Regions from separate parts of the Homo sapiens genome. Here regions 2, 3 and 4 are each linked to region 1. The links are contacts of gene promoters, found by promoter capture Hi-C in human tissues and cell types (Jung and others, 2019). All regions are on one chromosome and are shown on one strand. The core of a region is centred on a gene start or on the middle of the fragment in contact, and the rest is flanking DNA. Distances in the headings are between cores, read along the strand shown.

Region 1 (3,399 bases), core at 271-2,770:
GTAGGGACAAAGCAAGCCCTTAGAAGGGGCTTTGGCCTTATAATTAAACTTTTAACTAGATCTAGTTTTCCCCTCTGCCAAATTGAATTTTCCTTGTTCACATTTTCTTCGTTTTGGACACAGCTGACTGATTTTGTTTCATCTCATATTAGACTCATATATCCAGTGATTTAATTAATCTCACCAGCTGTCTGGCTGTCCCACAGGACCTGCCTTCTCCGCTGTTGGCGTTAGAAAACGATTCCCTTTGCCTTTCCTCGCTCTGGCCTCCGCGTGGAGCCCCAGGATCCTTGACCTGACCTGTGGGCTCCCCAGCCAGGCGTCCACGCAGGGGCTAGATGTCTCCCACGGGGCTCAAAGTGTCCGCCAGGAGGGTACATGCCCTCCGCCCCGCAACACACACACACACCTCACAGGCGCGGGTGGGAAGCTGCCTGAAGCCCTACGGCTGCAGTTTTATTACAAGATTTCTTTCCAAACGCAAGATCAGGCCAACAAGCTCAGCGACTCTGACGCTTCACATCTTCACCCACTCGCACCGTGTTCCGAACCCACCCGCACCAACGTACACACAAAACTCCCACGCGAGCGACCGCAGTCCCAAATTGCATCTCCATACCCACTCCCACCCTGCCCCGAACGTCTTAAAAAACAAACAAACAAAAAAAACTGGTAAGAACCCTCACCCCACATTCTCCCACCCCGCAACGCTGCAGCGCACACAGGACAGAGCCGGGCGTCCAAGTCCCTTCCCGCGCCCCCGCCGACAGTCTCGCCGCGTCCCCGCCCGGGCGCCCCAGGCACGTAGCTGCCCGCCCGGAGGCGGCGGCAGAGCGCAGAGAGCGGGGCGAGGGTCCGGGTCTCCGGGGTCCTTCTTGCAGCAGCGCTGGCGAGGGCGGACCCAGATGGCGCTCAGTACAGCCCCAGGATGGCTGCGCCCACGTCCTTGGAGGGCCGGCGCTCCTGCACCAGAAAGTTGATCATGCTCTCGGACTTGATGAGCAGGTTGCAGCCCAGGAAGAAGACGCCGAAGACCACGGTAAGCGACAGCACGCAGAGCACGGCGATCTGCGCCACCCGCGACACCCACAGGCTGCGCTCGTCGGGCGCCAGCCCCGCGGGGACCCCGTCGCTGGCGGCCAGCGGTGCGCCCCCTGGACAGCAGCCCAGCCACGTGCCCAGCCCGTGGGTGCGGTTTCCCAGGGCGGCCCCGGCGCCGCCGCCCACGCCGTCCACCTCCTCCAAGCCGCTGTGGTTCAGGAAGGTCGCGTTCATCGCCGCGCGGCGCCGGGGGTCTCGGCGCGCAGTCCCGGGTGCACTGGGCTGCTCGCCGGGGTCCGCGCTCTCAGGGACGCTCCGGACCCCTCGGACCGGCTCCTGCGGTACGGGGAGGGGACGAAGGCGGGAGGCTGGCTGCCTGCGCGCTCTCGGGCCGCCTACCCCTGGGCACCGGGCGGGAAGCGACCGCCCGGAGGAGCGAGCAACAGGCGGCGCAGGAGCTGGAGCCGGAGAACCTAGTGTGCTTAGCGGTCGCCCGCTGGGTTCCTCGCGCGCCTGGCCGCCCCTCCCCTAGCAACGGCCCGGCCCCGCCCCGCCGGTCCCCGCGGCATCTCCGAGGGGCGGGAATCCCGCCGCGGGCGCAGCCTCCCCGGAGTCCCGGTGCTGGAGGGGGTCGGGAGATCCGGCAGCCTCTGTCCGCGGGCCGGCGAAACTCCACCCCCTCCTGGCACCCGCTGTCCGTTCTTGGCTAGAAAACCTCTCCAAGGTGCCCATTCCAGGATTTGATACCCTTAGCAGTGAAGTTATTCCGGAATCTGCCCTGACTCTCTTCGCTTATTATTTAAGCCCTCGTAAGCCTTGCTAGACATCAGATGAGTCGCCGGGACCCCTGGCGCTGCCCACTCCACTGGCCCCGGGTCTCCTGGGCGGTCCTGCCTCACAGCTTTCCCGGGGTGAAAGCTGTCGCGGCGAGGCGGGCTCTCTGCCTCCTTCCCTACACCCTCCTCTCAACTTGGTCCCATTTAACTTTTTTTTTAAATTAAAAAATAAATTACTGTTTTTTTCTTTCTTTTTTACACAAACATAGTCATTGTAGACTAGTTTAGAAAACATGAATTACCGAAATTACTCTAAAACTTTATAATCTGCCTCCTAGAGAGTGTCGATGTTATCACCTGGGTATAAACTCCTCCCAGACTTTTTCTATTTGTGCCTTTCTCTAGATAACAGATATGGGGATGCACCGTTCCTGCTTACTGCCTCCCAACCTTTCCTCACTTAACAGCGTAACTTTCCCTAGCGATGGTCCTCTACAGCTATGGCTCTGAATTGCCTTGGAGGGTTTATTAAAACCCAGATTGCTTCCACCTCCCGCCCCCAACCTCCCCACCCCAACCAACCCCAAGAGTTTCTGAATCAGATGTGGGATGGGGCCCCAGAATGTGCATTTCTAACAGTTCCCACGTGATGCACAAACTACTGAGCTACAACATCATTTTTAGTGAAGGAATGGCATTTTAAGGTATGGACTACTACAGTTTATTTAACCAAGCTTCCTGCTGGATGTCTGAGTTTTTCTTTCCTTCTTCTTCCTTCTCCCTTTCCTTCTCTCCTTCCTTCCTTCTTCTTTCTTTCTCTTCTTCTTTCTCTTCTTTCTTTCTCTTCTTTCTTCTTTCTTTCTTTCTGTCTTCTTTTTTCTTTCATCAGAAACAATATTACCATAAGGAGCCTTGTAACAAAGTATTTGTGCCAAAACTGATTTTTCTTTAGATTGTATTTTGAAAAATGGACCTGTAGAATCAAAAAGTAGGCCGGGCGCGGTGGCTCACGCCTGTAATCCCAGCACTTTGAGAGGCCGAGGCGGGTGGATCACGAGGTCAGGAGATCGAGACCATCCTGGCTAACACCGTGAAACCCTGTCTCTACTAAAAATACAAAAAAAAAAAAAAAAATTAGCCGGGCGTGGTGGCGGGCGCCTGTAGTCCCAGCTACTCAGGAGGCTGAGGCAGGAGAATGGCGTGAACCCGGGAGGTGAAGCTTGCAGTGAGCCGAGATCACGCCACTGCACTCCAGCCTGGGTGACAGAGCGAGACTCCGTCTCAAAAAAAATAAAATAAAATAAAATAAAAAAAGAAAAAAAGAATCAAAAAGTACTTCCTACTAAATTGCTTTCCAGAAATATACCAGTGTACAATCATGCCCTGTGGGGAAAGGGGGCTCCCCACCCCCAACATTGTTATCATTATTTTAAAAGTCTTTGCCTGAGTAGCGAAGGGGGGTGGGGGCAGGGGTGGTTTCTCACCCGTATGTTAATTTGCATGCTTTGATTGTTGCAGGAGAGTAAAGAAAGCACTTTGTTATTGCAATAATGCAGGCAAAAGATGCTGCCTGGAGACTTGA
Region 2 (3,399 bases), core at 505-3,004, 250 kb before region 1:
TAATTTAACAGTTATATATGTGCGTGTATTTTGCACTTAAAAGTAAATGACTTGTCTTGGTTTTTCTGGAGTTTTTTTTTAACTTCTAAAATAATGAAAAGAAACATAACCTATAATAGTCTTGAAGATTTGCAACATATGTGTACTGTGGAAGGATTTTTAAATCAGCTTTTCATAAACCATCATTCCTAGTAATTGGAGTCTTAGCTTATACTAAGGGTGAAGTTAGAGAGGTGAGTGTATTTTCCCTTTCTCTGATTCCTGCAATATTTTCTTAAGTAAGTAAACGTATATATCTAAAGTTGCTGAAACAGAAATAATTATCTACATATATCATGATTCCTCCAATGTTTTCATAAATAAGTAAACGTATATATCTAAAGTTGCTGAAACAGAAATAATTACCCCCAACATCTACATATATTATGCACACAAAAAAACTTTATGTCAGCATATTAATTATAAAAACTATTAGAATGTGAGACTTTTTCTAGGCATTTAAATTTATCTCTTAAAATAGTTCTTCTTTTTTAGCTGAAAATAATTTATGCTAAAAGTCACTTGGGAGAAGGAAGATTAACTTCAGTGCTATCTTATACTTCTTGTTCTTTACATTGTTAAATACTATACACATTGATTTAAACAGAGGTACACCCCCTTGGCTGAGAAGCATTTGTGATCCAAAGTAGATACTAACAGAAATAAACAGAAACTATTAACGAATGATCTGCCACACTAAGATTTAAGAATAATTGTTTCTGTGTTGTAAAACTTATTGTAAGATTTTTGAGGGAAGGAACATTATCTTATGCTTTTAAATCTCACAGCCAATGGCATAGAGGCTTATACGTACATGCTTCACAAATACCTTATCAACAAAAAAAAATTTTTCAGTGTCTTTTCATTTTAGTGGGCTCAAGTGTTTTCATATTGCTGGAGTTTATATTTAGACAGGATATGATAAGAGTGAAAACATTCAAAAATAAGTAAAGTTCAAATGGCCAACAAGTATAAGAAGAGGTACTCAACATCATTAGTCATCAGAGAAATGCAAGTCAGAACCAATAGTGAGATACCACTCATTGCATACCTGCTAGAATGGCTATCATCAAAAAGTCAGGTAATGACAAGCGCTGGTGCAGATGTGGAGAAATTGGAACCTGTATGCACTGCTGGTAAGAATGTTCCTCAAGAGGTTAAGCATAGAGTTACCATATAACCCAGCTATTCCACCAAGTATACACCTACAAGCAATGAAAAACATATGTCCACATGAAAGCTTGTATGTGAGTATTCATAGCAGCATTATTCATAACTAAACATTTATCTGATAAAATCTAGTATATCCATATAATGGAATATTACTCAGCAATAAAAAAAAGTAGTACCATTACATACTACAACATGAATGAACTTTGAAAACATGCTAAGCAAAAGGAGCCAGTCAAAAAGACCACATATTGGATGATTCCAGTTACATGAAATGTCCAGGACTGGCAGATCTATAAAGACAGAAAATATATTTGGGATGGCCTAGGGCTGGGAGGGGAGAATGAGAAGAGTGAGAGGGTCACTGCTAATGGGTATGGGGTTTCTTTTTGGGGTGATAGAAATGCTCTAAAATTGATTTTGGTGGTGTTGTGTATATCTGTGAATATACTAAAATACTGAATTGTACACTTTAAATGGGTAAACTGTGTGCTCTGTGAACCATATCTCAAGCGATTACATTTTTTAGAAGTGGTTTAGGAGCTACTTAAATGATGAAAGGAGACATAGAGTTAGAAGTGAGGGGTGAGCATCCAAGGTACGTGGCCCAGCTTGGGAGAAAGAGGAATTGGATCATTTAAAAAGAACATGGAGTGAATTTATCTAAGGACTGAAGAGGAAGAATATAGAAATATGTAAGAAGTAAGAGATGTGGTTGCCTTAGTGATTGGAAATGGCAGGGGTTCTCTCTGAAGGGAATACCATCTGGTCATTAATCTGAATTTGGTGACTCTGACCTGGACTGCCAGATTACCTGCAGTATACATGAATCAGTAACAGGATAAATTAATATTTGTAGTATTTCTAGTTGGCATGTATTTAACAAAATAAAAATGTGCTTTGTCATACCACCTTGCTTTTTAAAATGTTTATATTCTCTCAAGAAAATAAGGGGAAATTTTCAGGCTGATCCAAGTGTTAAGAATATTAGTCATTGTAAAATGGAAGCATTCACTTTGTCAAACCATTAGCATATAGTTTTTTCAGATGTTTTTAATTAAATATTAAAGGTATATTCAGCTAAATATTGTAGAAATGCATAGAGTGATAGAAAAATATTTATTACTGGTAAGAAAACAAAAGTTGTGAGCATTTTTCTTTAAAAGGAGGAACTATACTTATATACACTACAGTAATCATATCAGTCACAGAATCCTCAATTTTGCATTTGTTGTATTTCCAGCTTTCACACAGAAAAATTGTGTGTGCATGTGTGCACGTGCTCAAATAAAAGAATCCCTTCAGGGGCACTATGTTGTTATGTATCCAGATATTCTCTTTTCTCCTTCCACCCCTCCCCCACCACCCCCTCCCTTCTTGTAAATTGGCTTATTAAAACTGGTTCCCAAGCCCTCCTTTTTTCCCTTTGTGATTGCCTTGGTCTTGGATTTTCAGTGTAGAACTAAAAATTCAAGTCAGATTTCAGTTACTAGGATAATTTTCTTTGAATTTTAAATTTTTCTAAGTAAATGCATAGATTTTTAATGAACCTGGTATTCAGTGGATTTGCTTTAAATTTAGCTGCAGAGTTAATTTCATGATTGATTTATTAGCCCTTTGAAAGTATAAAAAGTGGTATCTGCAGTTCGTGAAGAGTGAAAAACATCATCACATTTTGTTTAGCATCTTTTTAAAACCAATTAAAAGCTTTTCTAAAATGGATTGAACAGGAGAAAATAAAACATGTTCCCTAGGTCTTTATTTCAATCAAGTTTCCCTGTGTTCTGCAGGAGAAGAGATCGAGAGGGGATAGAAAAATTGAAAAGGGCTGTCCCAGCAGGGAGCCAAGCCGGAAAAAAGGGCTTCTCTGAGAACTCAGCAGCAGCAGCTAAGAAAGCTCCCAGCCTGCTTCATCTACATGCAGAGTCACACAAGGCATGGGGGTGCTCACTGTCACACAGAGGTTTCACATGTGCTTCCCTGCTGATTCCTGTGAAAAGCTAACAATTGGCTTGGAGGGTAAAAGACCACTGCAGTTCACCCTCCCTGAGCTGGACGTACAATTTGTCCAGTGTTAGGAAATGTCCGGCTTAGCAGTGAGAGGCTTGAAGACACCCCTCCTTCCAGTGAGATTCCTAACGCCGTCTCTTTTACTTGATGACACTGGGGCTCTTTTCAAGTTTTGCAGAT
Region 3 (3,399 bases), core at 474-2,973, 200 kb after region 1:
TCTGACTCAACAAAAATTTTTAAAAATACAGCAAAATATGGGGCCTGCCTAGGTATCAATGAAAATATTTTTAAATAGATTATTCACAATAAACATCACTTTTGCATAAGTGAATGGAGTAGATTAATCTATTGTATAATCTTCTTTCTAAGCCTTCCATTCCTTCTCACCTTTCTAATCTTTTCATTGGGACCTTAAACTCCTGCTGCCCAGATCTTCCTCACTTTTCTCACTGAATTCCCATTCTCCACCGAGGAGACAGCTCTCTCACATGGACAGTAATCACCTTACATCCCACTATCTCAGAGTCAAGGTAAGGCTGGTTTCCACTTAACTTCTCAAAACTACTTCCAAGCATTGCTCTTTGTCCTTTTGTGAAATTTCCTGCCCCTGAGGTTTAGGCCTTGTTCTCACAACTCTCAGCTACTAAACCCATACTGTTTGACTTGTAAATTCCATTTAAAAGTACATAACCCAAGGAAATGACTCAAAAAAAAAAAAAAGCTGTACACAATGATCTATATCAGCATCTTAGAAAGGGAATTATAATAATGACAGAAACAAAACATACATTATCAGTGGTGTTTATTAAGCATTGATTACCAAGCCAGATGGCTGTGCTAAGGGCTTTAAATAAACCATCTCATTGAATTTTTAATTCTAAGGGGCAATGATTATTTTATAGATGAAATATCTGAATTTTCAGATATTAAAGTAACTCGTCCAAGGTTATAAAACTGTACATTTAAGTGACAGGTTAGGATTTGTTCCAAGGCTATAGAGTCTAAATCCATGTTCTTCACCATAGAATACAGACTCTTTTCTTAAAAAAAAAAAAAAAAAAAAAAAATACATGGCATGGTGGCCCATGAGTATAATCCCAGCACTTTGGGAGGCCAAGGCAGGTGGATCACCTAAGCTCAGGAATTTGAGACCAGCCTGGGCAACATAGCAAAACCCTATCTCTACCAAAAAAAAAAAAAAAATTAGCCAGGCGTGGTGGTCCGTGCCTGCGGTCCCAGCTACTTGGGAGGCTGATGTGGGAGGATCGCTTGAGCCTGGGAGGTAGAGGTTGCAGTGAGCTGAGATGGTCCCACTGTACTCCAACATGGGTGACAGAGTGAGACCCTGTTTCAAAAAAAAAAAAAAAAAAAAAAAAAAAAAAAACCCAAAACAACAAAAACCCTGGGGGAAAAAAAAACCTAAAGATTGAAAAATGATTAAGTAAATCATAGCATATAAACCTGAATCAATTCTACATAGTTATTAAAAGTAGTATGTAAGGGAACTACACAGAAAAAAAGTAAAGATTTTATGAACTAGTGTCAATCAGAAAAACAACAAGATGATGATAGCTAGAATCTTGTTACAGTGATAAAAAGTTATGGAATTTCATATATGTTATTCATTTATCATTCTACAGCAATGAATAGATTTCAAACCTTCTGCATAAAGGCGTTCTGCGAGGAAAACCGCATCTCGGTAAGCATAGTGGTTTAGTGCTTGCCATATAGCAGCCTGCAAATGGAGGAAAAAGAACATAAATATACATACATACAGACTTTCAAGGTAACTACTAGCACACAGCCTTACATCAAATACTGAAATTAATATCCCTAATTTAAGTGATAAAACCCCAATGCCCACAGAGCAAACTCCAGAGTGTGCCGGGCAAGGCTCTTCACAGTATGGCTCCTAACATATCTGAATTTCCTCACTCAACTCTCTATGGACTTTTAGGCTTCTGTGCCTTTGTACACCCTTTTCCTCCATTGGGCAATGTGGGCTCCCCTCACCAGTCTCCCCTTATAAACTGCTCGTCCCTAAAGATCCAGCTTAAATAACATCTGCCCCATAAAGCTTTCCTGGCTGATGTCAAGCCATTTCTTTTTTAAGATACCTCTTCTAGTAGAGCACTCATAACATGGTTATTTGTTAACAGGACTGCCAACCCTACTAAACTACAGACTTTTAGCAGCAGTGGTTCTCAACCACTTTATGTGATATACATGACAGAGATATTAAAATGTATGTCATCCTCCCACAAAAACTTCCCTATCTATTACCTTTAATGCCACTCAATTCTCATCCACTCCAGGAAGCATATTGGAATGCAAATGAGTAAAGTTATCATAGGAATAACTTTTAATTTTTTGAATATATGTTTTCTCTTTTAGAATTACAAAACATATAACCTAAAGTATATATGAGATAGAAGGACATTTTAAGTAACAATAACCAAAGACATTTAGGCCCATGTACTCACCACCCAGCTTAAGAAATAAAATATCTCTGAAACTCCCTGTGTGTTCCTTGTTGATACCAAAACCTCTCCCTGCCCCAAAGAGGAAACCACCACACTGAATTTTCTTGACCTTTCTCTTGGTTTTCTTCACAATTTTATACATTTGTACATATCATCTCTAAGCAGTATAACATTTACTTTTTCCTGTTTTTGAACTTTAAATAAATACAATCATATTGTATACATTCTGCTACGATTTGCTTTTGAAATCCAATGTTTTGAAAATTCATTCTTGATGTGTGTAGCTAGAGTTCATTTGTTTTCATTGCTGAATAAATAATATTTCCATTGTATAAACATATCAAAATCCAAAATGTATTTTATCTATTTTACAGCATGTGGACATTTGGGTTATTTCTAGGGTGTTTTTTTGTTTTGTTTTGTTTTTCCAATTATAACAATGCTGCAACAGTCTTAGATTCATCTCCTGGGGTATATATTTAAGAATCTCTCCAGCCTATCACGGTGGTGTGAGCCTTTAGTCCCAGCGACTCAGAAGGCTGAGCTGGGAAGACTGCTTGAGTCCAGGAGTTCAAGGCTATGATCATACCTGTGAATAGCTGCTGGAGTGCAATAGGAGCAAGACTCCCATCAAAAAAACACAAAAAAGAATCTCTCCAAATTAGGATATATATTTAGGAATAAAATTACTGGGTTGTTGAATATGCATATGTTCATCTTTACTAGGTAATGTCAAATCATTTTTAGTAATAAACTACTTTTGAGATATCTCACACCTGATCATGATACAAGCGTTATTTTTTATTTTTAGCACATACACCAGCTTATAATTTGTTGAATGATTTAAAAAGGTTACAACGGAAACCAGTAAAATCTGGTTACTGATCACTAGCTAACATTGTACCAGTACATCTAAATTATATTAAGTGATTAATATGCCTTAGATACAGTAAAGGCTCAACAAATTTTGTTGAACAAACAAGTAAATGTTTAATAATTCTGCAATGAGTATATTAATTATAATTTTAAAAATAAAAGTAGTAAATGACTTAGCCCTTTCTATTTCCTCAAGAAAGAACAGTAATGAACTTAGTTTGGGATCTCCAGAGCCTCTTGTTTAACCTTTGTTTATA
Region 4 (3,399 bases), core at 670-3,169, 140 kb before region 1:
CGATCTCCTGACCTCATGATCCACCCGCCTCGGCCTCCCAAAGTGCTGGGATTACAGGCGCGAGCCACGGTGCCCAGCCCATTTTCTTAATCCAGTCTATCATTGATGGACATCTGGGTTGGTTCCAAGTCTTTGCTATTGTGAATAGCACCACAATAAACATATGTGTGCATGTGTCTTTATAGTAGCATGATTTATAATCCTTTGTGTACATACCCAGTAATGGGATCCCTGGGTCAAATGATATTGCTAGTTCTAGATCCTTGAGGAATTGCCATACTGTCTAATTGAACTAATTTACACTCCCACCAACAGTGTAAAAGTGTTCCTGTTTCTCCACATCCTTTCCTGCATCTGTTGTTTCCTGACTTTTTAATGGTCGCCATTCTAACTGGCGTGAGATGGTATCTCATTGTGGTTTTGATTTGCATTTCTCTGATGACCAGTGATGATGAGCATTTTTTCATGTGTCTGTTGGCTGCATAAATGTCTTCTTTTGAGAAGTGTCTGTTCATATCCTTTGCCCATTTTTTGATGGGGTTGTTTTTTCTTGTAAATTTGTTTAAGTTCTTTGTAGATTCTGGATATTAGCCCTTTGCAGGCTGTAAATTCTAAGCAGCAGGAAGTAGGTGTGAGTAGAAGTGGAGGCAGAAAGCAGCCGGTTCTGTTTCCAACTGCATTCTCCTTTCCTGTGCCCCTGTGTCATCACCATGGAACGCCTTTCCCGATGCTACTTCCAACAGGAGGCAGAGGGTGGGAGAATTCAGGTTGGAAGGCTTATCCCTAGGAAAGAGGGTGCCGACAGACAAGGCTCCTTGGAAGCCTGACAAATCAAATTTACCATTTATTGAGCACCTACTATGTGACAGGAACATGACACGCATGATTTCATTTAATCTTCACAACCAGCCCAAAGAGCAGCTTTCTCCCTATTTACAGTCGGAGAAACGGAGGCTCTGAGAGATTGTAAGGGACTTGCCCACGGTCACCCAGCTAGGAAGGAAAGCCAGAAGGCCAGCCTAGGTATCCTGGCGGTCCTGGATCAGAGACACTGCTGTGAGGCTTCCCGGTGGGAAGAAGGAAAGTCATGCATCGATATTCATCACCGAGTGAGAGTGAGAGTTCAGCCCTGTCCCAGGCACCTCTGGGCGGGAGGGTGGAGAATCCGAAAGAAAGAGGCCCGTCCCTGGTCCTCAAGGTCGTGCCAACAGGCCAACTAAGCCATGTCCCAAATTGAGAGCGGGTTAAGGTGGGGGCGTGGGGACGCCCTGACGCAACAGGGCTTCGGAGAAGGGAGCGCTGGGGGCTGCAATGCCAGAGGATTCCTTGAGGAGAAGGGGCTGGTGGGGCGGGTAGGGGCTGGCCGGGAGCAGGACCGGGAGGAACTGGACCCTCTGGACTGGGGAGTGCGGGGTAGATGAAGGCAGAGGAGATGGAGGTTCTGCAGTGTGAGGCAGGCGGACAGGGAAGCCTGCATCCAGCTGAGAGACCTTGAGCAACCACGTCCTCCTCTGAGCTCCGCGTTTGCCGTGTGCAAAGTGAAGGGGTAGGCCGACCCCGCAGGGCCCTTCTTGCGCTCCTCTGCGGTGTGTGGGGGGGTCTCTGGTCCGCGAGAGGACAGTCCCTGCCGCGCCGAGCGTCCTCCAGCGTCCGCGGCCGCCGCGAGCAGCGCTGACCGGCAGGGGGCGCTCCTGCAGAAGGCTGGCCGCGGTGGCGCCCTCGGCGGGGCCTGGGCTGGCCTGGGGACCCGGGAGGCCTCCCCCTCCATCCCTCCAGGTCCTCTCCCACCACTTGCCTTCTCACACCGCCCCTTCCCACTCTATGCTCTGGGATTAAAGGCTTGGGAAGTTGCTGGTATTTAGGTCCTTGGGCAGGCCACTTCGCCTCTCTGTGCCTCAGTTTCTTCAGGCGCAAACTGGGTTGTGTGAGGAAGAGATGAGTTATTGGTCAGGAGAGCCTTCCAGCCACAGGTGAGGTAGATATGCCGCTGCTGCACACCCCAATATCATTCCTAGGGCAGGGGCTGCTGCTCTACAACCTCAGGGTTACAGTTAGCTTTAAATCTTTATTTATTTGGTTGTTTTTTCAGACAGGGTCTCCCTCTGTCGCCCAGGCTGGAGTGCAGTGGCGCGATCACGGCTCACTGCAGCCTCAAACTCCTGGGTTCAAACCATCCTCCTGCCTCAGCCTCCCGAGTAGCTCGAACCACAGGTGCATACCACCATGCCCAGCTATTAATTTTTTTTGTAGAGATGGGATCTTGCTTTGGTGCCCAGAGCTGGTCTCGAACTCCTGGGCTCAAGTGATCCTCCCATCTCAGTCTCCCAAAGTGCTGGGATTACAGGCATGAGCCACCGTACCCTGCTTTAAACTTTTATTCAAAGTCCTTTTGTGCAAAGATAGAAATAATTCCTGGATCCTACAGAGTGCCTGGCATGATGAGTGATGCTCAAAACGTAGCTGTGGAATGATTAGTTTTTTGAAACCATCCAGACAGAAGCTATGAGAAAATCAGACAGTGCACCTCTTCTGAATCACACTGGAAGATGTCCACATTCATCTTCACATTTCTCACCACTGTTCTGTGAGGAAGGTGGACAGGGAGTGTTGTATCCATTTTATGGATGAAGAAACCGAGGTCGCAGAGGAAGCCAGAGACAAGATTTTAAGTTAGGACCCAGGGTTCTCTCCATGCAACCTCAGGTAAATTATCCTGTTGTTGCTAGTGACTCCTATTGGAGACATGTGGTATTGCAACCAGGCCACATTAGACACTGAAGGCACCTCATGAGGAAGAAGGTGGGCACATCCTGGGTGCCAAGCCCAGAGAGGGAGAAACTAGGGTAGATATTAATATCGGAGCTGGGGGAATGAAAATGATATTTCAGAATCAACAACAGATTGGAAAGGCTTAACTAGTTTAAAACACATTCCCTATTCTTAAGTCCCCAACACTTTTTCAACCTCCTCTCACTCCAAAGTAGAACTTAATGTAGCAAAGGTATGCTTTGTAGGGTGAACCCTTATAATTATAATGACAACCAGTGGGAAAACTTGGTTTCCTTTCAAACGTTTGTGTGACTAATTAGGAGGGACTATTCCATTCGTTAAAGTGAAGAAAGAAGGACTGAAAAAAAAAATCACTCTGCAAAATCCAGCTCAAACATTGCTGCATCTCAGTTGCCATTGTCTTAGCTACCTCTTCCCTGGAACAATGAATTGATTGTCTTCTTTCCTGGGTTCCTGCCTCATTTGGTACTTTCTTCTCTTTACTGCTGCACAGTCGTTAAATATGTGTCTTTGGTGCCAGCTCCCTGGGTTCTAATCCCGGTTCTAAGCTTACTAGCTGGCCAGTTACTTGACTTCTCTGTGCCCATTTCCTCATTTGTAAAATGCTGT

Evidence for each region. The method cuts DNA at HindIII sites, captures the fragments that hold promoters and counts their contacts. A contact is called where the count stands out against the background at its distance.
Region 2: a fragment that was not itself captured here is called in contact with the fragment with the promoter of RPRML in region 1 in 2 of the 25 tissues and cell types used here (dorsolateral prefrontal cortex and mesenchymal stem cells).
Region 3: a fragment that was not itself captured here is called in contact with the fragment with the promoter of RPRML in region 1 in 3 of the 25 tissues and cell types used here (H1 embryonic stem cells, heart right ventricle and stomach).
Region 4: a fragment that was not itself captured here is called in contact with the fragment with the promoter of RPRML in region 1 in 1 of the 25 tissues and cell types used here (spleen).

The regions. Positions count from the first base shown.
Region 1 is chr17:46,977,733-46,981,131 of GRCh38, forward strand. RPRML (reprimo like) reads right to left here and starts at 1,521. Exons shown (of 1, transcript NM_203400.5): 1 at 424-1,521. The coding sequence starts at 1,275. The coding sequence ends at 913. It also overlaps a transcript of LRRC37A2 not described here. RefSeq lists enhancers at 1-306, 307-986 and a silencer at 1,464-1,643. The HindIII fragment of the contact is 12,504 bases long and covers 1-2,793 here.
Region 2 is chr17:46,729,787-46,733,185 of GRCh38, forward strand. The region is part of intron 17 of NSF (N-ethylmaleimide sensitive factor, vesicle fusing ATPase); the gene reads left to right. It also overlaps a transcript of LRRC37A2 not described here. Among named protein-coding and RNA genes, the nearest start is that of WNT3, 87 kb to the right of the region's middle. RefSeq lists an enhancer at 2,823-3,399. The HindIII fragment of the contact is 3,561 bases long and covers 1-3,399 here.
Region 3 is chr17:47,180,120-47,183,518 of GRCh38, forward strand. It overlaps CDC27 (cell division cycle 27), which reads right to left. Exons shown (of 19, transcript NM_001256.6): 2 at 1,443-1,518. Among named protein-coding and RNA genes, the nearest start is that of CDC27, 7.5 kb to the right of the region's middle. The HindIII fragment of the contact is 6,447 bases long and covers 1-3,399 here.
Region 4 is chr17:46,840,307-46,843,705 of GRCh38, forward strand. It overlaps a transcript of LRRC37A2 not described here and a transcript of WNT9B not described here. Among named protein-coding and RNA genes, the nearest start is that of WNT9B, 9.6 kb to the right of the region's middle. The HindIII fragment of the contact is 7,127 bases long and covers 1-3,399 here.